Regions from separate parts of the Homo sapiens genome. Here region 1 is linked to region 2. Evidence: promoter capture Hi-C in 16 types of primary human blood cells and fetal thymus (Javierre and others, 2016). All regions are on one chromosome and are shown on one strand. Each heading gives the region's core, a stretch centred on a gene start or on the middle of the fragment in contact. The rest is flanking DNA. Distances are from core to core; before and after follow the strand shown. Region 1 overlaps CCDC59 (coiled-coil domain containing 59). Region 2 holds the start of LIN7A (lin-7 cell polarity scaffold A).

The links. The method cuts DNA at HindIII sites, captures the fragments that hold promoters and counts their contacts. A CHiCAGO score of 5 or more calls a contact.
Region 1: a fragment that was not itself captured here is called in contact with the fragment with the promoter of LIN7A in region 2 in 1 of 17 cell types (neutrophils); the score reaches 5.5 in neutrophils.

What each region holds. Positions count from the first base shown.
Region 1 is chr12:82,350,999-82,356,245 of GRCh38, reverse strand. It overlaps CCDC59 (coiled-coil domain containing 59), which reads left to right. Exons shown (of 4, transcript NM_014167.5): 3 at 1,652-1,751; 4 at 2,934-3,943. The coding sequence ends at 3,095. Among named protein-coding and RNA genes, the nearest start is that of CCDC59, 4.8 kb to the left of the region's middle. The HindIII fragment of the contact is 3,290 bases long and covers 430-3,719 here.
Region 2 is chr12:80,936,495-80,942,165 of GRCh38, reverse strand. LIN7A (lin-7 cell polarity scaffold A) reads left to right here and starts at 4,232. Exons shown (of 6, transcript NM_004664.4): 1 at 4,232-4,525. The coding sequence starts at 4,444. RefSeq lists a silencer at 4,895-5,104. The HindIII fragment of the contact is 1,862 bases long and covers 2,467-4,328 here.

The DNA of each region.
Region 1 (5,247 bases), core at 825-3,324, 1.4 Mb before region 2:
TATAAAAAACTATCGCTGCATACTTAAAGTTAAAAAACAATGCTAAAATCTAAAATTGCAAGAAGCTGGGTATTAACTTGGGAGCATAATTTTTTACTTCATTAAAACCGTATCTTTTAAAGTCGTGAGCTATTTGCGCTAAAAATAACAGGAAATGGGACCACGGGGGGTAAAAATGTAATTGGGGATGAAGGCAGAGACACAAAAAGTTTACTACTTTTGGTAGGCTTGATCATTATATTGTTAAATAATCAGTATAAAGTTCAGGGAAAAGATTAGCAGTAGAAATGTAGATTTGAGTTATTCTCTGATAATTGAAGTAAGGAAGTTTAAATCATGAGAAAGGAAGGTAAAAAATCATGCTTTTAAAGATTACGGTTTATTTTGGGGTGGAAACAGGGAAAATATTGTCATTGAGGAAGTTAAGCTTTTCAGGACTGGAGAAAGAGAAATACAGTGACAGCTCAGTCCACAGAGAAAAGTTGTGAGGGATTAGTCAGCTATCAAATATTGTGGTCCCCCGTTATCTGTTTGGAAGATGTTCCAAGACCCCCAGTGGATGCCCTGAAACTGCAAATGGTACCAAACCCAGTTTCTGTCAATTGGAATGTATTTCTGTTAATGTCTTTTACTTGGGAATTTAATGCCTTTTCCATCTTAAATCACGTACTGTGGCCATAACTTTTGCAGTTTGAAGTATGACAGCAAAACTAGCATGAATTTATTTTTCCTTCACAATTTGATGTATAGAAGATTTTTTTTAAAACCATAGATCTTAGCAACTTCAACATACGATTTTTTTTCCTTCCTTATTAAGTCAAGAACTTTTACCTTTTCACTTAAAGCAAACACTCAGTGTGGTGTACAATTTAAAACATATGAATTGTTTATTTCTGGAATTTTTCAATTTAATATTTTTGGACCTCTGTTGACTGCAGGTAACTGAAACCGTGGAACAGGGAAACCATGGATAAGGGGTGTGCTACTGTACTATAAAGTTGAAGGTGAATAGGACTGAGGACAGGTCTCTGGATTTGTGGACTAGGCAGTCACTAGTCACTAGTCCAAAGTCGCTAGTGATTAGTAGCTATTAAAATATTATATTGTAGTTACAGAGTATAGTGAAAAGTTGAATGATAGAGGAAAGTAAAGTTATTACTGAATCAAGGATGCTGAGGAAATGAATGGAATTCCAAGTAGTTGGATTAGCCTTGACAAAAAGGACATCTTCAGAGAGGTGAGAAGTAGTTAAAGATAGAACAGTTCAAAATGGTATCTAGATCCAAGGTATGGTGATTCATGACTAGGTAGGTAAAATGGAATAGAGAGGAGGGGCTCAGAAAACTTCGAGATTAAAGTTCATATATACACATAATTTTCTTAACATCCTTAAACAACAAGTTTAATTCTTTTTTCAGTCTGGCATTTCTATCATTCATATACTGGTTTCATTACTTTTAAAAGTTTTTTTTTTTAACATTTTAGGATTTTTCATAGCTTTCTATATTTTTTCCTAGTTGAAATATTTCTCTAAGAATCCCCATTTGTGCCTTTTATTTAATATATACTCTTAAAAGCTACAACTGTGTTTTTAATACCTTTTTGGACATTTTACTAATAAAGTCCTGTTTCCTCATCCCCCAATTAAAAGCTCCTTTACAATTCCAAAGAAAAATAAAAAGAAAACATCAAATCAAAAAGCACAAGAAGAATATGAACAGATACAAGCCAAACGTGCTGCTAAGAAACAAGTAAGTTCTACTTTGAAAATATTTAGTATAGTTTTTCTTATTTATCCTAAATATATATACTATACCTGTTGTGCTTCTTGGTGCTGGGCACACAGTATTCTCTCTGTAAATATTTGTTGAATGAATGAGTAGTCTGAGCAAAGGTAGAGGATTGCATCTTATTCCAAGTCCTTGCTTGTATTATGTCAAGCAATACTAGTAGGTCAAAAATAGGATTTTGAACACATTGTTTATAGGTCAATATTGTGAACATCTGGGACAAAGTTTCACTGAGTTTGGTCCAGGAACTTGCACTTGTTAACAAGCACCTCAAAAGATTTTTATGTATGATAAAACTTGAGAACCACTGACCTAAGAAAAATATAGATGATTTTCATAACATTACATTGAAGAAAGTAAAAGCAAAGGGGAGGTGTTAGAATAAAATACTTTTTTACTATAAAGAGGTGTTCTTGCCTGTTTAAAAAAAAAAAACAACTATTATTTTAGCTTAGCAAAAGTTAGCACTCTATTATTTAGAAAACCAGAATTGTAGACCAGAATTAGGCTTTTTTCAAATGAATACAGAATTACCCACAGCCTCAACAAAATTGTCATTTTGTTGTAACTGTGGTAGTTCTTGTTTTTCCATTGAAGTTTTATTGATCTGTAGCTTTAAAAAGTATAATGTGTCAGTTAAAAATACCCTAAAGATATGTAATTTTGCTTGTTTTTGCTTTAGAATATCTGTAATTAAGAATTCTTAACATCAAAAATGTTTTCATTGTTCTTAAGCTGGTGGCAGATTAGGAGAAAGCAGGAAAATTTCTTCATGGGAATACTGGACCAGTATTAACTAGCACAGCTTTATGCTTTTTCCAACCATCTGTCACCTTTGGAAACAGTATATCAGATGAAGTGCAGTAATGACCATTATGCTGTAAAACATTTAATGTCCTTTTAAAATTTTGTTTATATAGAGCTGGGGCTTTGTGATCATGAAAATTCTCTGTTATACCATGGGTCATTATAATATGAAGGCAAAGAGGGTACTTTGCTTCAATTAGGAGAAACAGTGCACATCTTGCAAAATAGAAGAGACAAACCTTAGAGTGTTTGCTTAGTAATAGCTATTTCAAGACAATTTCTGAACTGTATCTACTGTTTGTTGCTAATGAAAGTTACATATGTTAATAATTTTAGGAATTCGAGAGGAGAAAACAGGAGAGAGAAGAAGCCCAAAGGCAGTACAAAAAGAAGAAAATGGAAGTGTTTAAAATACTGAACAAAAAGACTAAAAAGGGCCAACCAAACTTGAATGTACAAATGGAGTACCTTCTTCAAAAAATACAAGAAAAATGTTAAACATTTTGTTCCTACAGGTTAAAATATCTGCTGCCTATTAGGTTCTTCTGTGACATGTGCCTCCCAGCAGTGAACTAAATTTGTCGACATAAACTGGATTGCTAAACTATGCTAAATATAAGATGTTCACATATTTTTATTATGGTAAAAAATTTTCTAAATATGTTCTACATGTTTCTTATTTATTTGCCTCTGAAGGAAGGTTGGCCTGAAGAACTGAAAGAACCTCTTATTTTGCAAGACAGGCCCAAGCATGTAATACTTTTGTACCATATGAGATTTATATGAAATAAATTTTTTAAAAATAAGGAATCAGAGCTATCAATGAAGCATTTCAATGAAATATTTCAATTTAGTAAACAGTTACGTTGTTTTAAAATTTATTTTAATGATGAGGGAGGCAAAGACTCCTCTTGGACTTTTTATTTATTTTAAGTACATGTTACAGGGTGATGGGTGCTGAAATAAACTGCCCTCACCATATAACAAAGCGACCTTCACAAAGCAGTGAACTCAAAGTCTGATATTTATAAACATTCCCTTAAATGGATGTACATGGCTTGTTAGTCTAAGGTCTTTTAAATAATGATGGAAACCCCACAGTGTCACAGCAAGAATTAAGCTTTCCAGTTCCTATGGACCCTATACTTTAAGAACATTATCTCTGTCTCCCTTGTTGGTACCCTTGTGAGCTGAGATAAGCCACTGGGATAACTGCTTCTCATGCTTTGCAAATTGCAGAAGAATGAGAAAGGCTTGAAATATATATATAGTCATTGTAAGCAAAAAGGGCTGACCAATAATACTTGCCAAATATTGAATAATAAAATTTTATAAATGATAGCAAATACAGTCTGAAATTGCATTAAGATTTTAGGGAGCTCTTTCAGTCTACTAATTTATTCTGCATTTCAAGATCAGTAGAAAGTGCTTAGATAACACTGAACTTAATCTTCATTGCATAGAAAAGCAATGCTTTAGAAATTTGCATTGCACTATATTGCATTTAAAGTAAGCAGCCCAGAAAGCCTAAATTTGGCTACATTGGTGAAGACACATCACATCATGATGGAGGATAAATTATTTCAGTAAATTGCTTTACAATTTTTGTGCATTTTCACTTCTAGACACTTAATCATGACAAAACATGGAAGGAGATCTAGTCCTTTTGAGAGACAAGTGAAAGTCAAATTATATTCATTTTAACGACTTTGTTAAAAGCTACTTTATGCAAAACTTATATTAAGGAGTTACTCTTTAAAATTCCAAAGTTCTTGTAGAGGAATAAATGCCAAGTAATGGTATAATGGGGGAAAAAGTAATCAGTGACAATCAGATAAAGCAAAAGGTTAAGATTTTAGTGTTATCAATGAAGCACCCAGGAAGCTTTTCCTTTTTCGTTTTTTTTTTTTTTATTATCTTGGTGGTGGACAGTCTCCCGCCCACGCTGCAGTGCAGTGGTGTGATCATGGCTCACAGCAGCCTCAAACTCCTGGGCTCAAGTTATCCTGCTCAGCCTCACGAGTAGCTGGGACTACATGTACGTGCCAACACCTGGCTAACATTTTCTGTAGAGATGAGGTCTTGCCAAGTTCAGCCTTGCCTGGGCTGGTTTTGAACTGGCCTCAGGGATCCTTATGGCTCAACCTTGGCCGTACAAAGTGCTGAGATTATAGGTGTGAGCCACTGTGCCTGGCCTATAGGCTTCTTAAGAGGCATGTTTGAGGACCCTACACTAAGGAATTTGGATACTGTAGATGGGCTTAGTAATGGATGTTTTAACAGGCAACCCCAGTGATTCTGCTGGGTTGCTCCTCGCCACACTTAAAAAATGTTGGACCAGGGCCTCAGAGAAGAAAGAGGTTTTGTTTGGTTTAAGAAATCAGAGAAAGTTTCATGTGTGCAATAGCATTTAAGGAAAGCCTTCGAGGTTAAAAAGATTAGAAGTGTAAGAGCATGAGGAAAGTTACAAAGGGAAGCAAGCTTGGTATTATTTAAATATCTAATAAGTAGTTAGAATATATTATTATTGATGGAGGTAATAGTTCCTATCGGTTCCCTATTGTTTCCTTCCATGTGGAGAAGACACCATCATCCAAACACTCATGGTATCTTTACTTCTTGTCCCACTTGTTCCACCCAGGGGAGGTAA
Region 2 (5,671 bases), core at 2,983-5,482:
TTTTGTAATTCTGACATTATTCTAGATCTAGTTTAGTCATCAATTTATTCATTCTTTGCACAATACTTAGTCACTAATTGCTCTCTTTCTTGTTTGTTTATTGACTTTCTCTTCCTTAGAGAATACAAGCCAAGTGAGAACAGGAAATTTTTCTTCTTCACTGCAATACCCCAATGCCTAGTACAGTGCTTGGCATATAGTCAGTATATTAAGTGTTTGTTGAATGAACAGACAAATAAGTAGTTATCAAAAAAAAAAGATAAACTAAATATAGTAAGATATTCTATGATGGTTTTAAAAAATAAACATTTAAATTTCAAAGTATTGGTTGGCACTTCATCTTAATCTAGTGCTGTTTTGACAAAGCTGTATGAATTAAGAAAGATAACATGTTATCTTGAATCAGTCAAAAACAATTTCTAACACCCAGGCTGAAAGAACTCCAGTTTGAAGGTGCTATTTTCTCATATGAAACTGTGCTCATTATACTTCATTTATAATCTAACTAAACACATTTCCTTGGTATGCTAATGCTCTATGCAAACCTTCTCTAGATTTTGTCATATAATTTTTAAAAATTCAATTAAGTGAAACCGACCTTAACATAGCTTTGAATGATTTTGTTAAGAACAGATTTTATATATCAAATAGGCAGTTGTTTAAATATTAACCTATATGTATATATAATGGAACCAGTATCATAGTTCTTTTGTCCTTTGACCTAACTTCCCTTCATCCATTCCTCTCTCTATGTCTCAAGCCAACACACACACAAAATAAAAGAGAGAGAGAAAAGACATGTGTGTGTGTATATATACATATAATATATCATATATATGTATTAAATATATTTCACATGTATTAAATACATTAATATTATATTAAAATATATTTATAATATATATTTATATCTCTTAAAAATATATATCTTAATAGATATATATTTATATATCTCTTAAAAGATTTTATAACCATATATATACTTATCTGGAATTCTGAAATAAAAGGCTGAAATCACTAAATCTTCAACAACATAGAATAAAGTGTGATGAGGCCCAGCGTGGTGGTTCATGCCTGTAATCCCAGCACTTTGGGAGGCTGAGGAGACGGATCACTTGAGGTCAGGAGTTCGAGGCCAGCCTGACCATAATGGTGAAGCCCCGCCTCCATAAAAAACACAAAAATTAGCTAGGCATGGTGGCGGGCGCCTGTAGGCCCAACTATTTGGGAGGCTGAGTCAGGAGAATCGCTTGAACCCCGCGGGCGAAGGTTGCAGTGAGCAGAAATCGCGCCACTGCACTGCAGCCTGTGCGACAGAGTGAGACTCCATCTCAAAAAAAAAAAAAAAAAAAAAAAAAGAACAAAGTGTGATGTTTCTTAGTGGAAAGCACAGGAGATTGTGAAGCCAGGTGCTACTATTCTTAAGCAAGTTGTGTAACCTCTGTGAGCTTCAGTTTACTTATCTTCAAAACGGCATAAAAATACCTACTTCTCTGGGCTGGAAAGAAAGGGAAAGAGAGACCAACTTAGCACCAAGTCTGGCACATATAAGTGCTCAATAAGTATTTATTGAATTAGTTAACTCCATGAAAATATAGTTACCATTAAACTAAATTTCTACATATCATTTAATGAAAGAGTGTAGTGATTTTGTAACCAAATAGCTAAGATAAAAGCATAATTACAAATATTTTAACAATTCTCAGGTAAATACACAGCAAAGCAACTGGCATGTGACTAGATCAAGTATATCCCTGCATGTCTCAAAACGAAATTCACAAATATTATTGGAGAGATAGTATTTATTCATAAAAACAAATTCTAATGGATAATGAATTTTTATTAATTTTCTACACCTGTGTAGACATAAGCTAAAGGGAATGAACTTTCCACTACTAAAAATAATAACAGATGAATTTATGGTGATTTATGCTTCCTTTTAATTTCTCTTTTAATCTTGATTTAAAAACAACAACAACCCTACAGAGTCAACACAGAGAAAGAATGACAGAGCAAATTTCAAATAGGAAGCTCAAGGCAGAAGTCCAGAAATATGCTATGAAATGTTTAGTCCTGAGGATGCATTAGGAAACAAAAAGACAAAGAAAACTCTACCTTCACTGACACCACAATCAGGGATTTGTGTTGGAATGGGTACAATTTATGACTTTTGGGCTGATGAATCAAGCTGCTTAAATACATATTCCCTAATAAAGGATGTTGTAAAATAACTACATTAGAAGTCAAGGGATTTGTATGTTCTTTTATCCTCAGTTACCGAGTGAGGTTTAATAACTTTGTGCAAAAGCTTGTAACACACTCTGGTATCATTGCGCTCATCTCAACTTCTTTCTGTTGCTTAATTCAGGGCATGTGAATAACGGTAAAAAACCAAAGTTGTTTTTGCAACCTCTGGCCACCGAGGGCACTTCCTTTTAATAGTGCTTAGAGTACTGCACAGAAGCTTATGGTTTGCTCACTGTCTCCCAAGCAAGACTGGGCAGAAAGGGGGCCATCTCATTAATCTTTGCATGGTTAGCACCTAGCACAGAGCTTACCACACGGTTCCAGGGGATGTATGCTTGTATAAATAAATTTGTATATTCTTTACTGTTTTCAAAGCACAGTCACATGTATGACTCCATTAGACCCTCATAAAACTCTGTGAGATTGCAAGGTAGAATTAGTTTCCTCATATGACAGATCTCTGTGACATTGAATGATATTATTTCCATTGTATGACAGAGGAGGAAACAGGATCAGTGAGAGATTGTGTGACTTCCGAAGAGTACATGACTAAGACTCAAATGTCAAGATCAGCATTCTTTCTTAAATACTAAATAAAAATAAACATATCGAACTACTATTTTAGGTTTGTTCTTAGGGTCTGTTAAGTCTATATATGGCCAATCATCTTTGGCTTTCCCACATTGGTGAAATGTTGTTTTTTAAAATTCAATTGTAGACTATAAAATGAAAAAGACCTTCAGAAATCCTATCTGTAATCAGAAGAAAATGGCATCAATTATATGCAAATATTTTGCTATAAAACAGTATCTGCCTTTTAGAGTTTATTGTTAGCCCAAACAATTCAGCTCTGTCACAGGAAACAAGATGGAGGCAGCTTTGTCATTTCCAATCCTGCACCCACAGTCACCCCTATTCAGCTTATAGAAGGTTTCTTTATGTTTCTTGATTTCGTAGTCAGGAAATGAATCCCTACTATGACAAGATAGTGAAAGTAGCCTTTTTATTGGGGCGAAGAGGTCACAGCCAGTATTTGAAGGCTCTCGTAATTTAATCCTGATCAACTGACTCTAAAGTCAGGTTTTTAATAACACCATCTCCCACTAGATTACAGGCTACAGGAAGTCGGAGACTAAATTGAACTCCTAAATCAAGGCGTGGCACAAGGCAATGTAACTCTTCTATCTCAATTCCTGGCATATATGTTAATCAATCGATAAGTGGCATCTCTGAACCACTGGTTAGAAATCAACATGAAAAGTGCTAGGTACATATTTTTCAAACGTAGTCATAGACAACCAAAATCAGTTTGGACATTAAGAGCAAAGTTTTTGTTGCTGGGTGGGTGAGGGGGAGTGGGGCATGTTTACAGGATGTGGTATGTAAAAAATTCGGAGAAAATCTGAACACTGTACTTGTTTCTAAGCTACATTTACTGAATTGGTAATGTATTAACAGTGGCTTGAAAAAGAAAAACTTAGCGATAGAAACTTACCTACACGTTTTTTATTTTGAAGCACTTTTAAGAGGTTTGCCTTTTTTTTTTTTTTTCTCCAGGCAATATACTCAGGTCCTAAATGAACATCTACTGATGGAACGCTGGCCTTTAGTCAGTTATCTTTATATGCCGTTATAGGTCAACATTCCGAAAAACTTCAACAGAAATTAACTGCAAATGTAATTACATCCCAAACATTTCTGATAATGGAAGCATTTTCTCTCTAAAGGGGATGGGATTATTGGATTGGCAATTTCTCTTAATCTGAGAAAACTCATCTCCCACTCCCTTCCCCATATCCCCTTTCCATCCTCTCTCTTCCCCTTATACACACACGCACCCGCATGCACACACGTATATTCTGACCATTTTATTAGAGTGGAAAGTTGAAAGGAAGCAACCCGCCAGCTACACCCACCCAGCGCTCCTGGGGGTGGAATAGCAAAGTTCTAGGGCAGAGCCTTCCCTCCCAGAGCCCGGCGATGCAGTCGCTCTCGGATACCTGCTCAGCTCCGCACCGCAACTGAAGATCTGCCGCCGCGGAACAGTTGCGTCTCCATCTGGCTACCAACCCACCCAAGCTTTCTTCTCCACCACCACCACCTTCCTTCCTTCCCCCTCCTCCCCCTCCTTTCCGTCTTCCCTCTCCACCCCCGCCCCCAATCTCCTCCTTTTTTTCTCACTACGAGCGGTTGCTGATGCTGAAGCCGAGCGTCACTTCGGCTCCCACGGCAGACATGGCGACATTGACAGTGGTCCAGCCGCTCACCCTGGACAGAGGTAAGGGAGCGGCTCGCTCGCCAGGCCACCGCGTCCCCTCTCCCCTCCTCCCTTCCCCGCCTGCCAATTCCCAACGGGACATGGGACGCGCTCAGGCAGGAGGAGAAGGGGAACGAGGACGAGCCAGGAAGGCGTTCGCGCCGAGAACAGAACACTTTCTTCCCCTTTCTCTCCCCGCTACGTTCCCGCTGCCCCTTCCCACTGTACTCGCCCCGCCGAGGGGACGCCTCCTTCTGGCTCTGGGGTCCCCGCTGCCACTCCCAGCCCCTCGCCGGGTCGTCTCCGGTCCTCTGGCTTTGTTGGAGCCGCTGCGCGGGGACGGCTATAGGCGCCAGGGGCTCGGGGTTGGAGAGGGGCAGAGAGCAAGCTCGCCCGGCCAGAGCCCAGAGGAGACCGGCGAGGGAGCCGCCTGTCAGCTTGCTTGGCGCAGGGGCCCGGGAGGAAGGAAGTTTGTCCAGGCGCCGGAGGGCGAGGGTCGGTCCAACTGCTGGAGTCCCGGCGGCCACTCGGGGGGCGGGCTGGGCGCACCCCTGGGCTGCCGGGCGCACAGTGGCGGGGCTGCAGCAGGCAGGGAGCTGCCCTCTGCCGAAAGGGCAAGGCAGAGCGCGGGGAGCCGAGCCCCAGCAGCCGAGATCGGCTCTCCGCGGCTTCGAGATCGAAAGCGGCGAGGGTCGCGTCTGCTCCCGCCGCCGGCAGCTCCCGGTCGATAGCAACTCTCGGCTTCTCCCGCGCCAGCCTCTCGTGTCCTCTCCCAGCTCGGTGCCACCGCGGCGCCCAGGCTGCGGAAGGCGCGGGGACAAAGCGCAGGTCGGGTTAAAATTCAACTTCTGACCTGCCACCCAGTGAGTCCTGCTCTCTGACTTGAACGGGGAAAGTGTTCGCTTCCTCCCCAGGACGCCCTCACAAGCTCAGGGATGGAGTCCTCCGCTGCGATCGGGGCCTCACTGGTGCACCCCTGTGGGGTTATACCTGTCCCTGAGTGTGTGGGTTTCCTTCCTGGCTCCAGCGTCCAGTGATGAAGGCGCTCGAGTCCTACGGCTCTGCAGAGGAGGACACCCTCTAGTCCCTCTCCGCAGCCGCCGGATTTAGGACCCTGGGCGGCCATTTGGAAATGGTGTACTCAGAAGAAAATGATTTAGTCCGATG